2 separate regions of the Homo sapiens genome follow, and region 1 is linked to region 2. The links are contacts of gene promoters, found by promoter capture Hi-C in human tissues and cell types (Jung and others, 2019). All regions are on one chromosome and are shown on one strand. Each heading gives the region's core, a stretch centred on a gene start or on the middle of the fragment in contact. The rest is flanking DNA. Distances are from core to core; before and after follow the strand shown.

The links. The method cuts DNA at HindIII sites, captures the fragments that hold promoters and counts their contacts. A contact is called where the count stands out against the background at its distance.
Region 1: a fragment that was not itself captured here is called in contact with the fragment with the promoter of CORIN in region 2 in 1 of the 25 tissues and cell types used here (IMR-90 fibroblasts).

The regions. Positions count from the first base shown.
Region 1 is chr4:47,566,610-47,571,481 of GRCh38, reverse strand. ATP10D (ATPase phospholipid transporting 10D (putative)) reads right to left here. Exons shown (of 23, transcript NM_020453.4): 16 at 2,336-2,645. Among named protein-coding and RNA genes, the nearest start is that of MIR8053, 84 kb to the left of the region's middle. The HindIII fragment of the contact is 4,014 bases long and covers 78-4,091 here.
Region 2 is chr4:47,834,926-47,840,363 of GRCh38, reverse strand. It overlaps CORIN (corin, serine peptidase), which reads left to right and starts at 2,297. Exons shown (of 22, transcript NM_006587.4): 1 at 2,297-2,477. The coding sequence starts at 2,415. All of the region lies in intron 1 of LOC101927179 (a long non-coding RNA gene), which reads right to left. The HindIII fragment of the contact is 9,769 bases long and covers 1-5,232 here.

The DNA.
Region 1 (4,872 bases), core at 835-3,334, 270 kb after region 2:
ATATTTATAGGTAAGCAAGTGTCCCAGATCTGTACAATCAGCATCTTCTATTCCCTGGCCTCAGTAATTGGTTCAGAAATGGACATATGACTCCAATTAATTAATATTATTATAAGTTATAATATAATTGTTATATATTACATAATGCATGATATAAATTATAAGTATTATATATAATGTATATGATAAATATAATTATAATGTAATAAATTATAATATAATTATGTTATAATTATGTTATCTATAATTATAAATCCAGGAGTTTTTGCTTTGGAAACATCTGGATCCATAAGCTTGAATAATTCATTTATTTATCTGTTTATTCAACAAGATAATTGAACAAAATTCCACCTTAATCCTGAAACTTTACTGCAGCAATCTGAAAAGTGATGCTATCTTTTCACCCAAGTTGTTAATAGGATAGGATGGAAACCCAGGAGTTTTAGTGGCTACATCACCACCCTGAGGGGAAAATTTACCTGAGACTGGAAGCAGTCCAGAGGGAAAACAGACATAGAAAGAGAGAGCTGATATGCCAAGTCCTCAGTTTAACACTGGAGTCTCTGAGATCTTAATCTCATACTACAATTCTCTTCAGTTATACTCATTCTTTGGTGTCAAGGCTTTGATATCCACTAGACTCTTTTTTTCTTTTCTTTTATTTCTCTTTTTTTTTTTTGAGACAGAATCTTGCTCTGTCTCCTAGGCTGTAATTCAGTGGCATAATCTCAGCTCACTGCAACCTCCGCTTCCCGGGTGCAAGTGACTATTTGCCTCAGCTTCCCTAGCAGCTGGGATTACAGGATCCCACCACCAGGCCTGGCCAAGTTTCGTGTTTGTAGTAGAGGTGGAGTTTCACCATGTTGGCCAGGCTGATCTCGAACTCCTGACCTCAAGTGATCCACCCACCTCAGCCTCCCAAAGTGCTGGGATTACAGGCGTGAGCCACTGTACCTGGCCTGATACCCACTAGACTTCTGATTCTCAAATTTATATCTCTAGCCAATTTCTTATTCCTAAATTCCAGACTTTTATTCTCACTTCCTACCTGACATCACTGCTTAGATATTTAATGGCCTTTTCAAACTTCACATGAGTAAGACCCAATTCCCAATTTCCCCTGCCTCTATCTCAGTAAATGGCAGCTCTGTTCTTTCTGTTCTTAGACATAACTTTGGCGTTCCCTATGACAACTCTTTCTCTCATATAACATATCCAATATGCCAGCAAATGTCTCTGGGTCTTTTTTCAGACCATGCCCATTTTTCATCTGACCACGTCCCAACCCTTCCTTTGCTCCCAGCTGTGCCCAAGCTGCCATCATCTCTTGCTGAATTATTCCAACTGATTTCATATGTCTTTGCAGTCCAACAATTACTCTGACAGAACAGCCAACATGATCATTTTAAATTTAAGGCAAATCATGTCCCACTCCAGCTCAAAATCCTTCAATGGCTCCCTAATTTTATAATGTCCTCTAAGACCCTATGTGATCTGGCCCTCTGCTGCTTCTCTGGCCTTTAATAACCCGCAGAAAACACCTCCCTTTGCTTAATCGGCTTTGTCCTCCGACACACCAAACACGGTTCCCCTCATGGCTTTCATTTTCACTGTCTTCTCTTCCAGAAATGTTCTTCTCCATGTCTCCCATGGCCCCTTTATGATTTCCTTCACATCTCTGCTCACAGTCAACCTTAGCAGTGAGACCTTCTTTGAAAATCGTATTTAAAAGAGCAGCCCCAGCCCATCTCCAGTGCTCTACGTGTCCTCATTCCACTTTATTTTTTCAATAGTACTTATCACTACCTGATACCTTACAGATTTATGCTTTGTTTTACTGCATGCCTTCCTACTAGATGTAAGTTCCTTGTAAAAAGGTAGTTTGCCAATTTTATATACTCTTGTATCTCCATTCCTTAGAAAAATGCCTGGTACAAAAAAGGCACTTGATAAATACTTGTGGAATGGATAAAGAAATGAATTCTCATGTCCTTGAATTTAGCTTTCCTGAAGGTAGAACACATGGATTTTTCAGTTCTGTGATTCAGTTTATTACTTGATTTAAGCTTGTTGATTTGGGGGTCTGACACTGAACTAAGAAGTCTGGACTACTGTATTGTTTACCATGTCACATCCCTATTACCTGGTTCACAGAAGGTGCTCAAATAGGTGATGGAGGAAGGTGCTCAAATAGGTGATGGGAAGGCATGAATGTGGTAGAGAAAAAGGGAGGAGGAAAATGGAAGGAACAGTGGGAGAAGAAAGAGACAGAAGGATCGGTGTCTGGTGTGGTGTGAAAGGGAGAAGAGCAGGACTCAGATTCATCCTCACTCACCAATAGCAAGGGTCATCACCTGGAGATGGCTGCGGACCAATTTCACCACTTCACTTTTCTGCAGCGGTGTGGCTCGGCAGCAGACCACAGCTTGACACCAAGATGTCAGTTCCAGGAACTGCTTTTGCAGACTTTCTTGCAGGGCAAACTCCAGGGTCTTCCCAGTGATAATGAGTCCAGCTCGTAACCCTGAGTCCCGGGGGACAGGAGGCTGAAGTAAATCTTCACTTAATGACACTTGCTCTGGCAGGGCTTGAGTTTTCTTCTGAAGTTCTTTCAAAATTGTGCTCATCAGCATCCCACAGGCATCCTTGAAACAAGAGGCAAAGGTGGTTAGCCTCCAGGCGCCCTTGGTGTCAGAACCAGTTACATTTTTTATTGTCATTTTTTAGCAATTGCTGAATCAAGAAAACCTCAAATAATGAATAACTGATTATTTTCAAAGATTTTACGAGTCTTCCACAGAGAGTTCTGTGTGTATGTGGGGATGGGTTAAAAGGAGGGGGAACATCTCACCAGTATTTCTTATAAAGAAATAGCTGTGAAATTTCTTCATGTGTGCAATTTGCCTTCTTGAACAGTGAATCCCAAGAGTCCTCTGGTCTCATTCTGCCAATTATTAGCTGCTTGACCTTGGGCAAACTATGTAACCTCTCTAAGCCTTAACTTTCTCATTAAAAATATGCAAATATTATTTCCATCATAATCTTGTTGTGAGGATTAAGCAAAATAATACAGGCAAAACTCCTAGTGTAAGGCATGACACATGGCAGGCATTTGAAATAGTAATTATTGCTTTTATCTTCTTTTTGATTCAACGTATTCATTCACTCACTAACTATTTAATGAGAAACTATATATTAGAAAACATTCTAAGAGCTGGAGCTACACCAATAAACATGAAAATTCCTGCCCTCATGGCACTTGCATTCTGGCCAGGATGTTCTTTGTGGTACTTATCACGTCTCCTTTGCATACATCCTCACTCCACACTAGTTAGGAAGTTCTTTAAAGGCAGTTATCACTTTTAATTTACTTTTGAAGTCTTCATGAGGCTTAAAAGAGGATCACATCAGGTACTCAGTAAACATTCACTGAATGAATTCTACTCAAGAAGATGAACAATAAGCTTATCCAGAAATTACTGTGTCAAGTGATCACTAAGAACAAATTCCAAATCCAGAGCAGTGAATTTAAGTTTAGTTTATACACTAAGTCTGAAATAGTTTATTCGTGAAAGAGCTCTCACTCAAAGCTTGTTTGCTTTGATTTTAAATGCTGTTTTATCAAGCATTTCTCAACCTACAACAAAATAAGAAAAGCAAGGAAGAAGTAGATATGGACATGTGCACATGAAACAGCACAAAAACTATAAACACTCTTGTGGAGTGTTCACAGGGCTCCATTTTAGGAATGAATTTGATCCCATACACCTCCAAAGCCCTTAAGGCAAAGTATACAAAGATGAATCAGATATGCTCATACAGCTCATTACATCATAGTAAAAATTATTTTTAAAACTCTTTTGGAGTTTGGTTAAATTAAAATGGCACATTTAGAAAGTAACATGCCTCGCAATCATTGAAAACATTAACATCAGATTGTGTTTAAGGTATTGTAATTGAAAGAATACAGCTGCAATACCATACAATAACATAAATATAGTCTTTGTGGCACCAATATGCTTACAGTATACAGAATACAGTCTGTGTGGATATTCTCCAAAATATGATTTTAAATTGTAGTTTTATGATTATAAATTGATTATAAAGGGTTTTGTACTCTTCTATTTATTTGAGTATGTGTTTAGGTTTTACAAATTAACTATTTTTTTCATTATAAAAATAACAGAAGTATGCATACACACACACAGCTAATCTTCATTATCTGTGGATTCCACATTTGTGAATTCTCCTACTTGATAAAATTTATCTGTAATTTCACAATACTTGAGATGTTTTTGTGGTTACATGTCATAGAGTGACATTTGAGTGTCACATGCATAGAGTGACATTTAAGTCATGTGATATGCCCATTCCCAGCTGAAGCTGAACACCATGATGCCTTCTTTTGCCAGTTCTCAAACTGTAGCAAAGTCTTCTTTTCATGGGCTATTTGGTGCCATATTTTTTGCATCTTTCTGCTTTTTGTCAGTGATTTTGCTGTTTAAAATGACTCCCAATCATGGGCTGCAGTGTTTCCAAGCAAAAAAGGCTGTGATGTGTCCTATGGGGGGAACTTACCCATGTTAGATAAGCTTTGTTTGGGTATAAGTTACAGTCTGTTGGCAATGCATTTAACGTTAATGAATCATTAATATGCATATTAAATAAGGTACATTTCAGAAGAAACAAGGTCATGTATTGATTGTTGACAGTATGTTGTAATCAGAGGAAGCTAACTTTGTATCTCCTCTAAAAGCAGTGGTCAGTGTTTGCTAATTCAGAGCTCGGGGCAACTACATAAACTATAACTCTACAAATAAGGAGAATCAACTGTATATATGTAATATGTAATATATAATTAGAAAATATACT
Region 2 (5,438 bases), core at 1,048-3,547:
TGCTTCTCCGTGATCTCTTCTTGTTCTTAAATTGTCTTCAGTTGTAGTACTAAGTACTAATTTGATCTGTAATGTGATATGTGGCTGAAGTTTGCTCTGTAAAATCACCGTTTCCTGAGGTATATTCAATATCTTTAATTTTTCCATAAATCTCTTCAAGGTTTGTGTGTGTTTTCTTTTAAATTATCTAACTAGTTGGATGTATGCTTGAAGTGCTAGACAATAAAAGTTTCAATAGGCTAGAAATGTTTCTTTTTGTAAAATTATTTTAAGAAACTAGATGATGGTTGTCACTTGAAGCTGAAATGCAAATGTAGCTAGTTTTTTTTAAAGAATAATTCAAATAGGTCATTAAAGATTACTATGAGCACACTGCATATTCAAATCAGTTTGAATATGTTTTGAGACTTCTAATAGTTTATGATTCTTGACATTTTAATGAGCACACTGCATATTCAAATCAGTTTGAATATGTTTTGAGACTTCTAATAGTTTATGATTCTTGACATTTTAAAAGTTTATTATAAAGAATATAAAACATCTTTACCCTCATTTTTTATGTCATTACCTTCATGCAAAGAATACCTCAGGTATTAATTCTGGTGCTGTTGGTAACTAGAACTGGTTGGGTTTTCTTGCTAAAAGGAAGTTTAAAAAATGTTTATTTTACACCATTAATGCAATTAGCTTTAGTTCTCAGAGGAACTAAAAGTGGAAAAGTGAGGGAGACTGATCGACCCTATCTCAAATCCACTGACGTAGCTACTTTAATTTCATAGTCCCTGTAGCACCTCCACCAGAGGGCAGAAAGTGGAAGAGAAAGAAGATGAAATAGAAACTTGTACTTGGCCTCAGAATGCCTGTAGAAACCTTAGCAATTGAATCCAGCCCTTATGTTATAGGCTGAGTTAACTGTGGCCCAGAAAGACTATGTGATTTGCTCACAGTTCTTGATTCCCAGACTGGCACTGCGGTGATGGTGTGTGATGAGGTAGTATCTTAGTAAGAACACAATCCAGAAGTCACTGCCTCGGGGGAATCCCAGCTCAGCTTCTTGCTAGCTTGCGTAGGCTGGTTACTTCACTTCAGCTCCCTGAATCTGCTTTCTTATCTCTAAAATAAAAATAATAGCTTCTTCCTCAGAGTAGTTGGTGGAACTGAAAGAATACATGTAAAGTGCTTAGTATGACACCTGCCACATAATATGAACTGAATTATTGTGAATTATGATAAATTTGTCAGATACTGGTTTACAAATCGGATGTTAGAATAACATGGAATCAGTGTTTCAGTCATTTTACTATACATATGCAATATTTTCTACATTTGATCTCACTTCAGAAACAAAATACTGCCCCCCCCATTTTACAAATGCATATTTTTTTCTCAGCAATAATGTTCAAGAACAAGTGCTTGGCCCATATTTTGTTGTCTTTACATGGCTTTCTTTAAATAATGGGGATGGATTTATTAAATAACCTCATGAGTAATTTTCAAAATTTCCATTAAGATCTTGATTGAAATTGGATGAAAAATCATTTCTAAGAAAAACCCAATGAAGTGTTTTTCTTTGCCACATTTGACAATTGCCTTGGACTTGGTAAAGTAATCATTACTGTGTTGAGTACCTCCAGTGCCCTCCTTGACGCTGCCTTAGAAAAGGTAGCTGCTTTTGAATGACAGGCAGGAATTTGTTCGCCTTTTAGGTTCAGCCTGTAGGTGCCCTCTGCAGGAAATCAGGAACTAGGGTTTTGGAAGCAGTCAGGGTGGGGTTCTCCCTTGTCCCTGCAGCCTCAGCAAAGACTCAGGCAGTCTGGCAAAAGCAGTTTCTTCAGCATACCTAACAGAACGCAAGTTTCCATATGCCTGATGCAAATAATGGCCTCCAAACGTTAAACCTTTTTTGAGATAAACTTGTTCTTTAATTGCCAGCGCCTGCAGTTAATTTTGATTGGCTACACTCTGGTTAAAAGAAAATGCTTTCGATGTGATATGGCAAATTTGGAGAAAAGTAACTCTTTTGCTCCCAACCAGTCTTCCACAACTTAAACTTAATCGTCCTGTCCTTTTCTGCTGCCCTCGTGGAGTGTAAGTTTTTGAGGGAGACCAGCAGAAACTGACTTTCCATATGCCCCTGAAGAATAACTTCTTTGAATGCAAAGAGGTGGGGACACGGAGGATCTGTCATTACGGGTTATTATGGGTGGGACCCAGAGACGGGAGTGAAGGGAGGGTGTGGCCCGCGGGTGGGATCTGTAGAGCAGACAAAATATGGGGCCCCTGGCGCTTAAAGTTCAGTTTGTCTCTCTTGAGCTTGGAGAAAATCATCCGTAGTGCCTCCCCGGGGGACACGTAGAGGAGAGAAAAGCGACCAAGATAAAAGTGGACAGAAGAATAAGCGAGACTTTTTATCCATGAAACAGTCTCCTGCCCTCGCTCCGGAAGAGCGCTGCCGCAGAGCCGGGTCCCCAAAGCCGGTAAGATCGATGATTCGCTGTCCTACCGCAGCCAGGTGTGATGGCCTCTTAGTCCCGGTGAATTCAGGGTCAGCCCCTCCCGCCCCCGTCCTCTCCTCCGCCCGATGCCACCTCCTTCCCCAGCCGCCGGTGAGCTCCCGCTCTGACAGTTCCGCGCTCAGCGCCCTGCACCCAGTTCCCAGGCGCACGGCCCTGGTCCCGACCACCACCCCGGTCGCCCGGCGTCCGAGACCCTCCCAGGGTCATGGGCAGGGTTTCCTTCAGTGTTCGAGTCGGCTCGATCCGGAGACCCCGGTCTCCATGCCGGGGGTGATGCCACCTTTCCTGCAGAGTCCCTCCTCCGCACGGTGCCCTCCAAGCATCTAGTGGACTTGGCTGCACACTGGCGGCAGGGGAGGCTGCAGGTGGAGCTGTCGGAGCCAGCCCCTCGGGGATCTACAGCTTCCTGTCTGCGCCGGCGTCTCGGGCGCCGGGTGGCTGGAGGGACTGTGCAGCAGTCTTGCCTGCCCCAGACGTAAGCCCCCTTCCCCAGCTGCGAGCGCCTGGGTGTCGGTCCCTCCACAGCCCGGGCTCGCGCTTGGTTCCCCGGCCCCCAGTTGGTGCCTGGGGATCACTCGCCCGTCCTAAGTGCTGGCATCCCAGAACTGGCCCTCTTGCAGAGTGCTGGGAACTTGTAGGTCCCTGCGTGCAAACTTTCTCCGGCGTGAACCTGCCTAGGCACAGGAGGGCTGGCCGCCGGGGGCGCAGGCTCTGCGCTGTAGGATTTGGTTGGCTCAGATCCAGTCCTGGGAAGGGGCAGCGTTGGCTCTCGTTCAGGAGGAGAAAGAAAGGGAAGGGCACCACGGACAGTCCCTACTGGCCTGAGCCCCCAGGAAGAAGGTCTAATTTGCGGCTGCCCCTCTCCTTCGGTGTCATTAGGGCCCCGGAATCCGCTTGCTACCGCGAGGGTCCCAGCTGCTCCGAATCGGGGACCGACCGGTGACGCTAGCTGCAGGCAGAGAGGGCAGGCTGTGCGGGCGGAAGGGAGGTGGTGTCTTGTCGGATCTTACTGGGACCCAGTTCCTGAGCTCCCGTGGCAGGCGCCTCACTCCTGCTACTACCTGCTCGGGGCCAGTGGATGGCAGTGTACGCGCTTTTTGCACGGCTCCCGGTTCCTGGGACCGAGCCCTGGGAGCTCTGACTTTGAATTCAGCAGGGAAGCTTCGGGGCTGGGCATTCCCAGGGAAGCTGTTCGAGTAATTCATAAAGTGGAGCTTTCCTCCCGCGGGAAACTTCTGAGAACGATGCGCTGCGAAGACGGACTCCTGTACAAGACTTCGATGACTGACATAGGCACAATTGTGGCTTCTAGTTTTTATTTTAACTTTTTATTTAAAGTAACTTATCGATGGAAGCGAAACTCTGCAAAGGAACGTCAGACCGCTACCAGAAAGGGGGTGAAGTCAGGACTTACTGGTGATTATTGTCCAAGGACACATTTAAGCAGATAGTTTTGAAATTAATTTTGGCATAACCCTGAGACAATGAGAAGAAACAATGCATTTATAAAAAGTTATTAAACCATTTTTTTTTGTCACAGTCAAAACATTCATTAGCTTGTTTCTATTATTAGGTGCCCAATAGGTTTGTTGTGTGAGATTGTGCTAAAAATTGGTCCTCAGATCCTGGGACTTGAGAGGTTAGAGGAGGTTCCTGGGGCTTGCGAGGTTAGAGGAGATGTCTGCATAGACTCACGTGTGGGCTTGGCTGACCAGGCAGGTTTTCCATAGAATGCTTTCCAGGACACCAAGAATTTCAATAGGATGAACTATTTTGGGGTTATTTGGGTGTGGAAACACATCAACCTCAAAACCCCAAGATTCTATAAGGCATTTTTTAAGGGGGAGGGGACTCTTTCCAGAAAGTTCCTTTCAGGGTAGGCTTACAGGACCAACGATGAAAGCCTCTGTTAACCTTCCTGTGGGTTAAAAAGACACACCAAGAATTGCTCTATTAACCTTATCAAGCACATATCCAGGTACAGAGACACTTTCTTAAAAGATGCAAAATTCATTCCATCAGAAACCTTCCTCATAATGCTGCAGAAATCACAATAGCAACAGCATAGAAGGCAGGCATCAGTGCTTCCGCATCTTGCATTCCACAACCAGCTGTGGTTTCCTTTTGGAAGGGTCACATTCTCCACCATAGCTTCATGTGGATTTCAGCAGTTGCTAGTTCTATTGACTGGCCAGCCCCTCTGTTGACCTCCCCCACTGTTGGGGGCAGACAGGAAGTTAGAGGAGAAGCTGAGTGGCCCAGGAGCTTCAGAGAGTCACTTTCAAAAGCCTGTACTTTCAAATCTCCATACTGTTAATGAGGTACTCCTTTCCTTATTTTTCCTCTTTTCCGCACTTGTAGCCTCTTTCAACACAAAGACTTGTGGTCTTAGGGTTTCTGAGTGTCCCCACTGCTGGGGTAATAAGAGCTCTCTGAGGAGCAGGAGAGCCGCAACACTGAATTGTTGCTGAGCGTATCTGAGGGGGAAAGGTTTGTTTGACCTGCTACTTCTACCTAATAAGTTATTCAACAAGTATGGATTCATGCATCCTGTTAGCCCCATCACTATTCTTGGCATTCCATTTTGCTGGACCAAATGGAAAATGAGGCTGGCTGGCTAAAGGGTACTGACCTGATACTGGCTGGCTAAACATACTAGGTTCACACTAAACACTCAAGGGATTCCAAGACTTACCTGTTCCTCAGAGTCTACACACTCACATAAAGACACACACAGACATAATACACTTGTTTGTTTTATGTCTGTTCAGAGAGGGTGGAAATGGCAGACCCCTTAAGAGTAGAAGGTGCTGTAGATGACCTGCCTTGGTGGGAAGAGTAGGAGCTTTGGTGTCAGACCTCTGACTCTGCCCCTTAAGAACCGCAAGGCTCTGGGCAAGTCAAATAATCTTGCTGGGCCTC